Linked DNA regions of Homo sapiens: region 1 is linked to region 2. The links are contacts of gene promoters, found by promoter capture Hi-C in human tissues and cell types (Jung and others, 2019). All regions are on one chromosome and are shown on one strand. Each heading gives the region's core, a stretch centred on a gene start or on the middle of the fragment in contact. The rest is flanking DNA. Distances are from core to core; before and after follow the strand shown.

Region 1 (6,747 bases), core at 2,112-4,611, 290 kb after region 2:
AAAATGAGGATCGAGGCCGGGTGTGGTGGCTCATGCCTGTAATCCCAGCACTTTGGGAGTCTGAGGCGGGCTGATCACGAGTTCAGGAGATTGAGACCATCCTGGCTAACATGGTGAAGCCTCGTCTCTACTAATACAAAAAATTAGCTGGGTGTGGTGGTGCGCGCCTGTAGTCCCAGCTACTCAGGAGGCTGAGGCAGGAGAATCTCTTGAATCTGCAAGGCGGAGGTTACAGTGAGCCGAGATCGTGCCACTGCACTCCAGCCTGGCGACAGAACAAGACTCCGTCTCAAAAAAAACAAAAAAGCAAAAATGGGGATCAATACACCTTCTACTCCCGCTGGCTAAGCACTGTCCCAAGCTCATCACAAACCTTGTCCTGTTTACTTCTCACAAAAGCCCATTTTACAGATGGGGAAACAGGATCAAGAAGCTAATAAGGTCTGGGTGCAGTGGCTCGCGCCTGTAATCCCAACATTTTGACAGGCCAAGGCAAGAGGATCACTGGAGGCCAGGAGTTTGAGACCACCCTGGGCAACACAGCAAGCCCCATCTCTACAAAGAATTTTTTTTAATTAGTTGGACGTGGTGGTACAAGCCTGTAGTCCAAGCTACTCAGGAGGCTGACGCAGGAGGACAGCTTGAGCCCAGGAGTTCAAGGCCACTGTGAGCCATGATTGATTGTGCCACTGCACTCCAGCCCAGGCAACAGAGACCCTGCCTCTCTCTCTCTTTTTTTTTTTCTTTTTTTTTGGAGACAGAGTCTACATCTGTCGCTTGTCGCCCAGGCTAGAGTGCAGTGGCACAAACTCGGCTCACTGCAACCTCCACCTCCCAGGTTCAAGCGATTCTCCTGCCTCGGCCTCCAGAGTAGCTGGGATGCTGGGATTACAGGCATGCGCCACCACACCTGGCTAATTTTTGTAGAGATGAGCTTTTGCCATGTTCAGCAGGCTGGTCTCAAACTCCTGACCTCAAGTGATCCACCCACGTCAGCCTCCCAGACTGCTAGGATTACAGGCATGAGCCACCAAGCCTGACCAGACCCTACCTCTTTTTAAAAAACAAACAAAAAATTATAAGCAGCTAATAAGTACTGGAATGAGGATTTGGATCCAAACCTGAATTGGAAAGGCATGCTATAAAGTTGCCTGAGGCAGTAGTTCTCAAACTTTAGTGTGCCCAAGATCTCCTGGGGTCCTGTGGGCAAGAGGACATTTGCCTCTTGGGCACTTCTGGGCACAGGCCAGATGGAATCAGACTCTGCCTTGCCCCGGCCACACAGGGGAGGGGCTGGAGGAGGGTTAGATTGGAAGGAGGGATCCCATTTAAGAGGCTGGCCCTGAGTGGTTAAGGATGGAGATTGGGGCGGAGTTAAGAGAGTCCAGAGTTTGGACAGACAGGTCTGGGGTACCCACTGGCATGAAGAGTAAGTGGAGGATGCACCAAGGACCCTCCACCCAGAACTTTGCTCTCAGTTGCCTATTGGGAGAGAACCCCGTTCACTCATCACAAGCTCATTCACCAGACATGTACTGTCACTTCCCCTGGAAGGACACAAGAACACACTGAGGAGCAGGCAGGCAGGACAGGCTGGGGTTCTCCCTCAGCAGGAGCCTTTGCCTATGGTCCCCAGTGACCTAGCAGGGACCCCTGCCTCGGCCAATTCACAGGCAGGAACAGAGACCCATTTCCAAAGCCAAAGCTAGTACAGTCTGTCTGACTCAAGCTCAGCAGAAATATTGGCCACAAAGATGCATAAGGTAGTTACAGATTCACGGCTCATGGAGGCCTGCCCAGGACTTAACAACTGCACCCCTTCATGCCCACCCGGGGTTTTCTGATGTCTCTATAATCCCTCAGGCAAAACTGCCACATTCAAAGCTCCTCTCTTCCACTCCTGGAGACTCCGTGTGGCTTTGTCAAGGCCAGATCTCAAGAGTTTGTAAAAACGGATTCAAGAGCAGATCCTGGCCCTGGCCACCCCATCCCAACCCACACCACCCTCTGCCCTGACTTTGTCGCATGCCTCTGAGCCTTGGGTTTGTTTTCCCATCTCTACGAGGCTCCACCAGGTCCAAAAAGGAGCAGAATCCACACACATTTTCCAGGACCCAGCCTATGCCCAGCCCTGGCTGGCTCCATGGGCATGGATGAGTCAGAGGCCATCTCTGCCCTCTTGCTGGGTCTGGGGTGGGAAGCCAAGTTTCAGGGGGAAGAATACAACCAGGCAGACAGGGTGAGAGGCGGCCTTTGTGAGGGGCAAGCGCTGTGGTGGGGTCAGGGCTGCTGAAACTCCCAGGGAGGCCCAGGTCAAGAAGCCAGCTGAGGTTGCTGAGTGCTCACTCTGAGCCAGGGCAGTGGACAGATGTCATTTCACTGCATCTTCACCAAACGGGCAGGCGCTATCCCCATCCCAATGGGAACAGCAACCAAACAGCCCCACTGAGAGGTCAGTGACTTCCCAAGGCCCTGCCCATGCTGAAACATGGGATGCTGAACTGAGTCCGCAGCCCCTGCCATTACAGGCCAGGCACTGTGCGAGGCACTTTCTCATTCTTTCGCTCACTCTTCACAACAGGCCTGCCCGTCACACCTGTCTCAGGGTGACTACCTCCTTTCTACGCAGGAGGAAACTGAGGCTCAGAGAAATGCAGAAGTGAGGCGAGAGGGGGCAAAGCCAGAAGTGGATCCCTGAGAGGTCCGACTTCAAAGCCCATGCGCCTCCCTTTCTTCCCTGGGCCTCAGTTTCTTCGCCTGTGCCAGGAAAGCTAGGGCTAGAATGAAGGCAGTCTACCGGGATTCCCTTTCCGTAAAGGGCTGCACGCTCACCTGTAGGCCAGGCGCCCACAGGACTTGGTTCCCTCTCCCAGTCCCCTTCCCGGCATATGGCGTGTCACCTGTACAGGTGACCCAGCTGACGGAGGTGCTGGGCTCCGACACTCCTCCCCTCCCGGGGCGAAGCACTCACCTGTACAGGTAACCCAGCTGCAGGAGATGCAGCAGCGCCAGGCAGCGGCGCGGGGGCTGCGACCCGTGCAGGCCGGCAGGGTCAGCGCGCAGCCAGAGCCAGCTGAAGAGCTGCAGCGCCACGGAGGCCAGGCCCAGCAGCGCCAGCACCAGCGCCGCCCACAGGTAGCGGCCGCCGAGCGCATACTGGACGGCGGCCCACAGGTCGGTGCCCAGGTCGAGCAGGAAGGCGGCGGTGCCCAGCACGCCCAGGACCAGGTCCCGAAGGAGGGCGCCGCGGGACGACCAGGGCATGGCCCGCCGGCCTCCGCCCTCTCCTGCTCCTCCGCGGTTGGGGCCTGCCCTCAGGGCCCGGGGTTGCCGAGGCAGGAAGGAGGTGGGCGCAGCCCTCGGGGCGGCCCGGGGCCTGGGCCTGGTGGGCGGGACTTCCCCGTCCCGCCCCGTCCGGGGAGGAGCGAGGCCCGCGGTTGTCCCAGGTCCTCCGCCCGAACCCCAGCTAAAAGCCGCTCGATGCTCTGCTCCCGCCGCCAGCCCAGGGGTCCACCGACCCAGCCCAGCCAAGCCCGCTAGGCCTGAAGACCGACTGCCCTTCGCTTCGCAGGCTTCAAATGGCCTAGTTTTACCTTTGAGGCGCCCGGAGGCCCAAGAAAGCGAGAGGGCGGGGAGACTAGAGCCTGGACCAGGGCTGCGATCCCTCACACCTGTATTGTTGCAAAACAAAACGAAACGCAAAGGCACATTCTAATCCCTAAGTGCGAGACTTTGCAACAACGCGTGCGCCTCGATCCAGGGATACCCGGAGAGCACGGGGCCGCTGGGTTCACGCCAGCGATCCGAGTCGGGGGAGGGCGGGCGTTAGGTTCCTGCAAATGAGTTAACCTCATTTCCATACGGAAGGGAATAGAGGCCGGGCGCGGTGACTCACGCCTGTAATCCCAACACTTTGGGAGGCCCAGGCGGGCGGATCACCTGAGGTCAGGAGTTCGAGACCAGCCTGGCAAACATGGCGAAACCCCGTCTCTACTAAAAATACAAATTAGTCGGGCGTGTTGGCGCGCGCCTGTAGTCCCAGCTAGGAGGCTGAGGCAGGAGAATCGCTTGAACCCGGGAGGCAGAGGTTGCAGAGAGCCGAGATAGCGCCACTGCACTCCGGCCTGGGCGACAGAGCGAGACTCCGTCTCAAAAGAAAAGAAAAGGAACACAACACAGAATCAAACGCATGATGAGCTTTGTTTTGTGAGTTAAACATAATACGCAAAAGAAGTATGCTTGTAGGGGGGTCTTGGGTCGTCATTTCTTTTCTGTTTCTGGTTTGTTTTTGGAGAGAGTCTGGCTTTGTCACCCAGGCTGGAGTGCAGTGGCGCGATCACGGATGGCTGCAGCTCCTGGGGCTTCGCTTCCTGATTCGGTTGTCCTATTTCAGTTCACTCCTCAGGCGCGGAGGAAATGGTGGAAGGCCCAGCTCTGGGTGATCCTGGGCGCTGCCCCCGTTACCCGTTACCAGGAAGAAGGTGAGCCTGGCAGGTCACAGCACGAGCGTGCACAGGCCCAGCAGGGCCATCAGCAGCAGCGGGAGCTGGGGCACGGGCGTGGTGCCAGAGGCATACAGACAGGTGGTGTAAGCGTCAATGTCCACCTGGCGCATGGCACACACGTGCTGCATGCTGCAGGCCTCGTCGCAGACCCCAGCAGAGTAGCTGACTGAGTTATAGACGTAGTAGCGCTGCAGTGTGCTCTGGTCGCCAGCGATGCGGTCCAGCACTGTGTGCATGGAGTGGGCGCTGGCGTCCGGCACCCCATAGGCCTCGGTCAGCTGGTACTCGAGCTCCCAGCGCGGCGTCCCCTGAGCATTCGCCTGGCTCAGGTTCATGAAGTAGGTCACCATGTCCTGGAAAAAGGGTTTGGGGTAGACCGGCTGTGAGCAGTTGTCTGCTTCCATCCCCATCCTGCACCTTGCATTTGCCCCCAAGTTCTTTAGAGCAGTGACCATGACCACTAGTAGTTATTGAGCACTTAGCTGTGCACCCATTGTGCTTGGCAGACATCCTCTGAATCGAATGAGGTAACTGCGCTTATTACCTAGGTTTCACAAATGAGGAAACTGAGGCCTAAAGAGGTTAATTCACTTGGCCAGGGTCATACAGGTATTCATACAGGTATTCAGTGGTAGCAGGATTGGACCCCAGGTTTACCCCAGGTCCCACCATGCTAGGGTACACATAGAAGACGCTCAGTAAATATTTACATAATGAATAGATAAAAGCAACATAAAAAGAGCAACACTAAGCATGAGAGAGATTATGAACTGTAGACTCCTAGGACCCAGGTGCATGTTCACGGCTAGACTCTGCAGGGTTCATCAGTCCAGCGGGTTCCAGGTACATTTATGAACCTGCTTCAGGCCACTGCAGACGGGGTAAGAGGAGCTGCCCGTATGCATGGCCACTCTGTGCCAGGAACATTCCATTATTTCATGTAGTCCTCCTCAAACCCTGCGAGGTTCTGTTACTCCCATTTTACAGATGAAGCAAGTGAGGCACAGAGGTCAAAAGATCAAAAAGCTTATGAGTGGTGGAGCCAGGATTCAAGCTCAGGGCTGACTCCCTCCCTGAGGAGAATGGAGGGCCTGTTAGGGGGTGATGGTGCAGCCTGCCATTCCCCTTGCTCAGACCCTTGGAGTGCCCATGTGGACAACAGGCCACTCTTTAAACCCCTCAGACCTCTTCTTAATCTACCTTTACTAGAATCAAGGACCTGGGTTAGCTCATGCAGTCGTTGGCTTTAAATGTCCTCTCTCCACTCCCAGATCACATCTCTATCCTCACCTCTTCAAGCTCCAACTTGCCCCTTCCCTGTCCACTTTCACTTGATGCCATTTAGCCCTCCCAAAGGTAACAGGTCCAAAACAAGACCTCTGACTGACCCTCCGAAGCCTGATCACCCTGCCACTTATCTCAGTAATCGGCAGCCACAGCCTACCGTTGCACAGGCCAAGAGCCTTGGAAGCCTCCTGGATTCGTCCCTTTTTCTCACAGCTCATATCCACTCTAGCAAATCCTGCATCCAGAATTCATCTGGGACCTGGCACTTTTCACCATCTCACTGCCTCCACCCTGGGCAAGCTACTATCCTGTCATCTGGGATTTGTCCTTCCCTCCAAACGGCCTCACTGCTCCCCCACCTGCCCCTACAGCCTGTTCCCTGCACAGCAGACATGATGATTCCATAAAATTATAAGTCACAGGATTTCATTCTTCTGCGCAAAACCCTCCAAATCCAGAGTCCTCATGGAGGCCTGCAAGATCGGACCTCCCCTCCCACTCTCCCCTTGTGCCTCTTACTGTGGCCACATGGCCTCCGTGCTCTTCCCCTAACCTACCACGCACATTCCCACCCCGGGGCCTTTGACTTGCTGTTCCCTCCACCTCCCCAAGATACCCACTGGGCTCCCTCCCTCAATACACTCAGAACTCAAATGGCACCTTATGTGGACACTTCCCCTTCCCACCTATCTAACACAGTACACACCTCCCATAGCTGTCACCCTGTCGCCTCACTGTTTTGATTTTCTCCTTAGCCCTTCTCTCAGTACTATAATTAATTCTACATATTTATTGTCCCTCTCCTGTAAGATGTCAGGTCCAGGAGAGGGGTGACTTTGTTTTTAAATTTACATATCTTCTGAGATTAGAACAGGGCCTGGCCAATGGCACACACTTAATGCATTTTGTTGGATAAATAAAGGAATAATATTTTTCATCTCAACAACCACAAGCT
Region 2 (7,350 bases), core at 508-3,007:
AATCAGCAGGGTGTGGTGGCATGTACCTATAATCTCATGTACTTGGGAGGCTGGCCAACATGGTAAAATCCCATCTCTACCAAAAACATAAAAATTAGCCGGGTGTGGTGCGAGAGCCTGTAATCCCAGCTACTCGGCAGGCTGAGGCAAGGGAATAGCTTGAACCTGGGAGATGGAGGTTGCAGATTGTGCCACTGAATCAAAAATAAAAATAAAAATAAAAACAAAAATTGCTTATCAGGGTCACACAGTATCTTCTTTTGACTGCACAAGGCTGTGTTAGAGCACTTTTTTTTTGTTTGTTTGTTTTTTGTGAGACGAAGTGTCCTTCTTGTTGCCCAGGTTGGAGTGCAATGGTGTGATTTCGGCTCACGGCAACCTCCGTCTCCTAGGTGCAAGCAATTCTCCTGCCTCTGCCTCCCGAGTAGCACCACCACGCCCGGCTAATTTTTTATTTTTAGTAGAGATGGGGTTTCTCCATGTTTGTTAGGCTGGTCTTGGACTCCCGACCTCAGGTGATCCACCAGCCTCAGCCTCCCAAAGTGCTGGGATTATAGGTGTGAGCCACGGTGCCCAGCCGGCTGTGCCAATTTCTTAAAATAAGACAATAATAAAGTTGGCCACAAGGATCCACTCTTCCTTCCATGAAAGATTTCTCTGTAGCATGTGATACTGTTTGGTAACATGTTACCTACAGCAGAACTTCTTTCAAAATTGGAGTCAATCTTCTCAAACCCTGCTGCTGCTTTGTCAACTAAGCTTATGTAATATTCTAAATCCTTTGTTGTCATTTCAACAATGATCATAGCATCTTCACAGGAGTAGATTCCATCTCAAGAAACCACTTTCTTTGCTCAGCCATAAGAAGCAACTCCTTAAAGAAACAAAAAAAGAAAAGTCAGCCTGGGCCAACATGGGGAAACCCCGTCTCTACTAAAAATACAAAAATTGGCCAGGCGCAGTGGCTCACGCCTGTAATCCCAGCTCTTTGGGAGGCTGAGGTGGATGGATCACGAGGACAGAAGTTCAAGACCAGCCTGGCCAAGATGGTGAAACCCCATCTCTACCTAAAATGCAAAAAATTAGCCAGGCATGGTGGTGGGTGCCTGTAATCCCAGCTACTTGGGAGGTTGAGGCAGGAGAATCGCTTGAACCCAAGAGGTGGACGTTGCAGTGAGCTGAGATTGCGCTACTGCACTCCAGCCTGGGAAACAAGAGCGAAACTCCATCTCAAACAAAACAAAACAAAACAAAAGAATAAAGAAAAAAAGAATAAAAAGAAGAAGCAACTCCTCATCCATTCGAGTTTTATCCTGAGATTGCAACAATTCAGTCACATATTCAGGCTTTATTTCTAATTCTACTTCTCTTGTTATTTCTTTTTTTCTTTTTGAAGACAGAGTCTTGCTCTGACGCCCAGGCTGGAGTGCAGTGGTGAGATCTCGGCTCACTGCAACCCCTGCCTCCCGGGTACAAGTGATTCTCCTGCCTTAGCCTCCCAAGTAGCTGGGATTACAGGGATGTGCCACCATGCCTGGCTAATTTTTATATTTTTAGTAGAGATGGGGTTTCGCTATGTTGGACAGGCTGTTCTCTTGCTATTTCGAACACACCTACAGTTACTTCCTACATTGAAGTCTTGAACCACCTCAAAGTCATCCATGAGAGTGAAATGAGCTTCTTTCAAACTCCTGTTTATGTTGATTTTTTTGCCTCCTTCTATGGATCACATTTTTTGTTTGTTTTTTGAGGCGGAGTCTCACTCTGTTGCCCAAGCTGGAGTGTAATGGCATGATCTTGGCTCACTGTAGCCTCTGCCTCCCAGGTTCAAGCGATTCTCCTGCCTCAGCCCCCCATGTAGCTGGGATTATAGGTGCGCACCACCACGCCTGGCTAATTTTTGTATTTTTAGTAGAGACGGGGTTTCGCCATGTTGGCCAGGCTGGTCTTGAACTCCTGACCTCAAGTGATCCACTGCATCGGCCTCCCAAAGTGCTGGGATTACAGGCATGAGCCACCACTCCCGGCCTGTTCCATTTATAGAGCACAGGTAGAGTAAATTTAGCATAATTCTTAAAGGCCCTAGGATTTTCAGAATAGTCAATGAGCACTGGCTTAAACTTATAGTCACCAGCTGCATTAGCCCCTAACAAGAGAGTCAACCTGTGCTTTGAAACTTGGAAACCAGGTATTGGCTTCTGTCTCTTTTTTTTTTTTTTTGAGATGGAGTTTCCCTCTGTCACCCAGGCTGGAGTGCAGTGGCACAATCTCGGCTCACTGCAACCTCCACCTCCTGGGTTCAAGTGATTCTCCTGCCTCACCCTCCCTAGTAGATGGGACTACAGGCACATGCCACACGCTCAGCTAATTTTTTGTATTTTTAGTAGAGATGGGGTTTCACTATGTTGGCCAGGATGGTCTCAATCTCTTGACCTCGTGATCTGCCCGCCTCAGCCTCCCAAAGTCCTGGGATTACAGGCATGAGCCACTGCTCCCAACCTGGCTTCTCTTTAGCTATGAAAGTCTTAGATGGCATCTTCTTCCATTACAAGGCTGTTTGTCTACATGGAAAAATCTGTTGTTTAGTGTATCTACCTTCATCAGTTATCTTAGCTAGATCTTCTGGATAACTCACTGCAGCAGCTTCTCCATCAGCATGGGCTGCTTCACCTTGTATTTTTCTGTTATTGAGAAGGCTTCTTTCTTTCAACCTCATGAAGCAAACTATGCTAGGTTTAAGCTTTTCTACAGCAGCTTCCTCACGTCTCTCAGCTTTCCTAGAATTGAAGAGAGTTAGGGCCTTGCTCTGGATTAGGTTTTGGATTAAGGGAATATTGTGGACGGTTTGATCTTCTATCAAAGTCTGAGACCACTCAAACTTTCTTCCTATCAGCAATAAGGCTGTTTGCTTTCTTATCATTCATGTATTTATTGGAGTAGCATTTAAAATTTTTCTTTAAGAATGTTTCGGCCGGGCGCAGTGGCTCACGCCTGTAATCCCAGCACTTTGGGAGGCCGAGGCGGGTGGATCATGAGGTCAGGAGATCGAGACCATCCTGGCTAACAAGGTGAAACCCCGTCTCTACTAAAAATACAAAAAATTAGCCGGGCGCGGTGGCGGGCGCCTGTAGTCCCAGCTACTCGGGAGGCTGAGGCAGGAGAATGGCGTGAACCCGGGAAGTGGAGCTTGCAGTGAGCCGAGATTGCGCCACTGCAGTCCGCAGTCCGGCCTGGGCGACAGAGCGAGACTCCGTCTCAAAAAAAAAAAAAAAAAAAAGAATGTTTCCTGGCCGGGCGTGGTGGCTCACACCTGTAATCCTAGCACTTTGGGAGGCCGAGGTGGGCGGATCACAAGGTCAGGAGTTCGAGACCAGCCTGGCCAATATGGTGACACCCCGTCTCTCCTAAAAATACAAAAATTAGCCAGGCATGGTGGTGGACACCTGTAGTCCCAGCTACTCGGGAGGCTGAGGCAGGAGAATCGCTTGAACCTGGGAGGTGGAGGTTGTAGTGAGCCGAGATCAGGCCACTGCACTCCAGCCTGGGAGACAGAGCAAGACTGTCTCAAAAAAAAAAAAAAAGAATGTTTCCTTTGCATTCACAACTTGGCTATTTGGCTCAAGAGACCTAGCTTTTGGCCTATCTTGGCTTTTGGCACATGTTCTTCACTAAGCTTAATGATTTCTAGCTTTTGATTTAAAATGAAAGACATGCAGCTGGGCTTAGCGGCTCATGCCTACAATCCCAGCACTTTGGGGGGCCATGGCAAGAGAACCGCTTGAGCCCAGGAGTTTGAGACCAGCCTGGGCAACATAGCGAGACTCTGTCTCTACAAAAAATAAGAAAATTGGCTGGGCGCAGTGGCTCACGCTTGTAATCCCAGCACTTTGGGAGGCTGAGGCGGGTGGATCATGAAGACAGGAGTTCAAGACCAGCCTGGCCAAGAGACCAGCCTGGCCAATATGATGAAACCCCGTCTCTACTGAAAATACAAAAATTAGCTCGGCGTGGTGGTGGGCACCTGTAATCCCCGCTACTCAGGGAGGCTGAGGCAGGAGAATTGCTTGAACCCGGGAGGCAGAGGTTGCAGTGAGCCAAAGATCGCGCCATCGCACTCCACCCTGGGGGACAGAGTGAGACTCCAACTCAAAAAAAAAAAAAATAGAAAATTAGCTGGGCTTGGTGGTGCATGCCTGTAATCCCAGCTACTTGGAAAGCTGAGGCAGGAGGATTGCTTGAGCAAGGCACTCCAGCCTGAGTGACACAGCGAAACTCTGTCTAAAATAAATAAATAAATAAATAAAGTGGGTCGGGCTTGATTGATTGCTTGAGCAATGCATTCCAGTCTGGGCGACAGAGCAAGACTCTGTCTCAAAAAAACAAAAAAACAAAAAAATGCATTATCTACAAAGCACAGTAAAGTGCAGCACAATAAAACAAGATATGCCGGCCGGGCACGGTGGCTCACGCCTGTAATCCCGGGACTTTGTGAGGCCGGCCGAGACGGGTGGTTCACGAGGTCGAGATCAAGACCATCCTGGCCAACATGGTGAACCCCGTCTCTACTAAAAATACAAAAAAAAAAATTAGCTGGGCGTGGTGGCGTATCCCTGTAATCCCAGCTACTCAGAAGGCTGAGGCAGGAGAATCCCTTGAACCAGGGAGTCTGAGGTTGCAGTGAGCCAAGATTGCGCCACTGCACTCCAGCCTGGCGACAGAGCAAGACTCCGTCTCAAAACAAAAAGACAAAAAAACAAGATATGCCTGTAGTGAGTCCTTAGTGAATATTTTTGAATGAATGTGTATGAGTTACTCTCCTCTGTTGAATAACTCCTTAGAATCTTTAAGGCAGTCACTAAATCATTCCCAAAGCTTCATTTACATAGTAACTTTGTGAGAAGAAAAAGCAAAAAATTCTTAGAATTTTTTTTTTCTTTTTTGAGACAGTCTCCCTCTACTCACTCTGTCACCCAGGCTGGAGTGCAGTGATGTGATTATAGCTGACTGTAACCTCAAACTCTTGGGCTCAAACTATCCTCCCAAGTAGCTAGGACTACAGGTGTGCACTATGCTGTCCGGCCAATTTCTTTTTATTTTTTGCAGAGACGGGTCTCAGTATGTTAACCAGGCTGGTCTCAAATTCCCAGTCTCAACTTCCTAAAGTGCTGGGATTACAGGTGTGAGCCACTGAACCTGACCCAAAATTCTTTTTTTTTTTTTTTTGAGACAGAGTCTTGCTCTGTCGCCCAGGCTGGAGTGCAGTGGCGCAATCTTGGCTCACTGTAACCACTGCTTCCTGGATTCAAGCAATTCTCCTATCTCAGCCTCCTGAGTAGCTGGGACTACAGGCACATGCCACCACGCCCAGCTGATTTTTGTATTTTTAGTGGAGACGGGGTTTCACCATGTTGGCCAGGCTGGTCTTGAACTCCTGACCTCAGGTAATCCACTCGCCTCAGCCTCCCAAAGTGCTGGGATTACAGGTGTGAGCCACCGCGCCGGCCTTTTTTTTTTTTTTTTTTTAACACAGGGTCTCAGTCTGTCTCCCAGGCTGGAGTACAGTAGCACAATCACTGTTTACTGCAGCCTCAACCTCCCAGGCTCAGGTGATTCTCCCACCTCAGCCTCCCAAGCAGCTGGGACTATAGGTGCACACCACCACACCTGGCTAATTTTTGTATTTTTTGTAGAGACGAGGTGGGGGGTGGGGGGTGGGGCGGTTCACCACGTTGCCCAGGCTGTTATTGAACTCCTGAGCTCAAGCAATCTGCCCATCTCGGCCTCCCAAAGTGCTGGGATTACAGGTGTGAGCCACCACGCCCAGCCTTGATATTATCTTTTGTGACCTGGTCTCCAAAAAAGAAAAGCCAGGAAGAAGCACAGACATTAAGAGTTACTGAGCTCCAGCAAGAATTCAGGATACATCACTGTCTCAGGTAACTCTCACCACAACGTTGTGAAACAGGCTATTGTGTCTCCATTTGACTGATGAGAAAACTGAGACTCAAGAGGTAACACGTCTGGACCAAGGTCAGATAGGTTAGTAATATGCTGAGTAAGGATTCCAACCCAGGCAGGAATGACTCCTATGCAGAAACTCCACCACTCCATTGATGAGACAAACACATGAATATGTAAGAAGCCGGCTGGCAAAAGGAACTGATGCTTAAAGCAGATATATTAATTGGAAGTGAGAAACATAACTGTCAAGCGACCTGTAATTGAGAGGCCAGGGCATTCCTCTTTGTAGGAGAGCCTTTACTGAAAGGCAAATTTATCATCTGAAGGTGGCTAAGGCAGCTGGAATCTGAGCAAGTGAAAGGACGAATTATTGAACTGCTCTACTCAGCAACTATCTGCTGGTCAGGGCTCCAGTTCCTTCCTTCCTTTTTTCATTCAATAAATATTTATTTACCATCTTGTGTGTACCAGGCACTGTGCCTGGCTCTGGGAAATCCAGTGGTGAAGCTAGCAGCCTAGCAGGGCATGGCAGGGTGCCACTGGCTGGGCACATTCCTCCCCTCCCCACTGCCTTGTATTTTTGGTTGGGTAAAGATCTCCTTCTTCTGTTGCCACACTCTCAACTCTTGCATCAGCTATGTTGAGGCCACTGATTGGCCAGCTATTTATATTCCTCAATCACCTTCCAGTCCCAAAGATACACCTACCTAGACTGGATTTGAAATGTTTTTGAGATGTCTTCAGCCTTAGATCCATTTCAGATTATGACCCTAATATGATTGTCATCTGTTCTGTATTCATTCTTCCTGAATTAGTTTTCTAGTCTCAAATTCTGAGATCACTTTACTATAATGACCTTGTAATGGGACCATTCGGGGGGCTGTGATTTATCACCCCAGATGTCATTTTCTGAGCTCTTCTTATTGTTTCCCCCCTCCCCACCCACTAATCTCAGATACAATTCCTGCCCAGGGGGAACTTTCAGGAAAGAAGTTCCACTCCAATTGGTTTGATAAAGCCAAAGAAGACCCATCCTTCAAGGCTTAGTCACACATTAATTCAATTACTCATGAAGCAGGCATTGTGCTAGGTGGGGAGGGAGGTCCTTCCTGCACAGAGCTGACAGGTGCCGAGCTGTCAAGCTACACAACCAAAATTGTCCTTTGGAGTTGTGCATTAGCAGGCAGTACAACCACAGACTCCCAGAAACAAAGCCAACTATCTCCTAAGAGCACTTCCCAGGAGTCAGGCAATTCGGGTGCCAGCTTTTAGCCAAGTAACCCAAACTGAATTTTTTTTTTCCAGCTCTTTGAATCTGTTTCCCTATCTGTAAAACAAAGAAATAGAAATTAGCTCTAAACTTGCAGAGTCATTATGGAGAGAACTGGT

The links. Contacts are between HindIII fragments. The study calls those that stand out against the background at their distance.
Region 1: the fragment with the promoter of XKR8 here is called in contact with a fragment that was not itself captured in region 2 in 1 of the 25 tissues and cell types used here (dorsolateral prefrontal cortex).

The regions. Positions count from the first base shown.
Region 1 is chr1:27,956,587-27,963,333 of GRCh38, reverse strand. XKR8 (XK related 8) reads right to left here and starts at 3,361. Exons shown (of 3, transcript NM_018053.4): 1 at 2,972-3,361. The coding sequence starts at 3,264. It overlaps SMPDL3B (sphingomyelin phosphodiesterase acid like 3B), which reads right to left. Exons shown (of 8, transcript NM_014474.4): 8 at 4,182-4,858. The coding sequence ends at 4,496. RefSeq lists an enhancer at 2,857-3,420 and a silencer at 3,101-3,490. The HindIII fragment of the contact is 22,893 bases long and covers 1-6,730 here.
Region 2 is chr1:28,248,836-28,256,185 of GRCh38, reverse strand. No RefSeq gene overlaps it. Among named protein-coding and RNA genes, the nearest start is that of SESN2, 7.0 kb to the left of the region's middle. RefSeq lists an enhancer at 5,072-5,945. The HindIII fragment of the contact is 5,032 bases long and covers 1-4,273 here.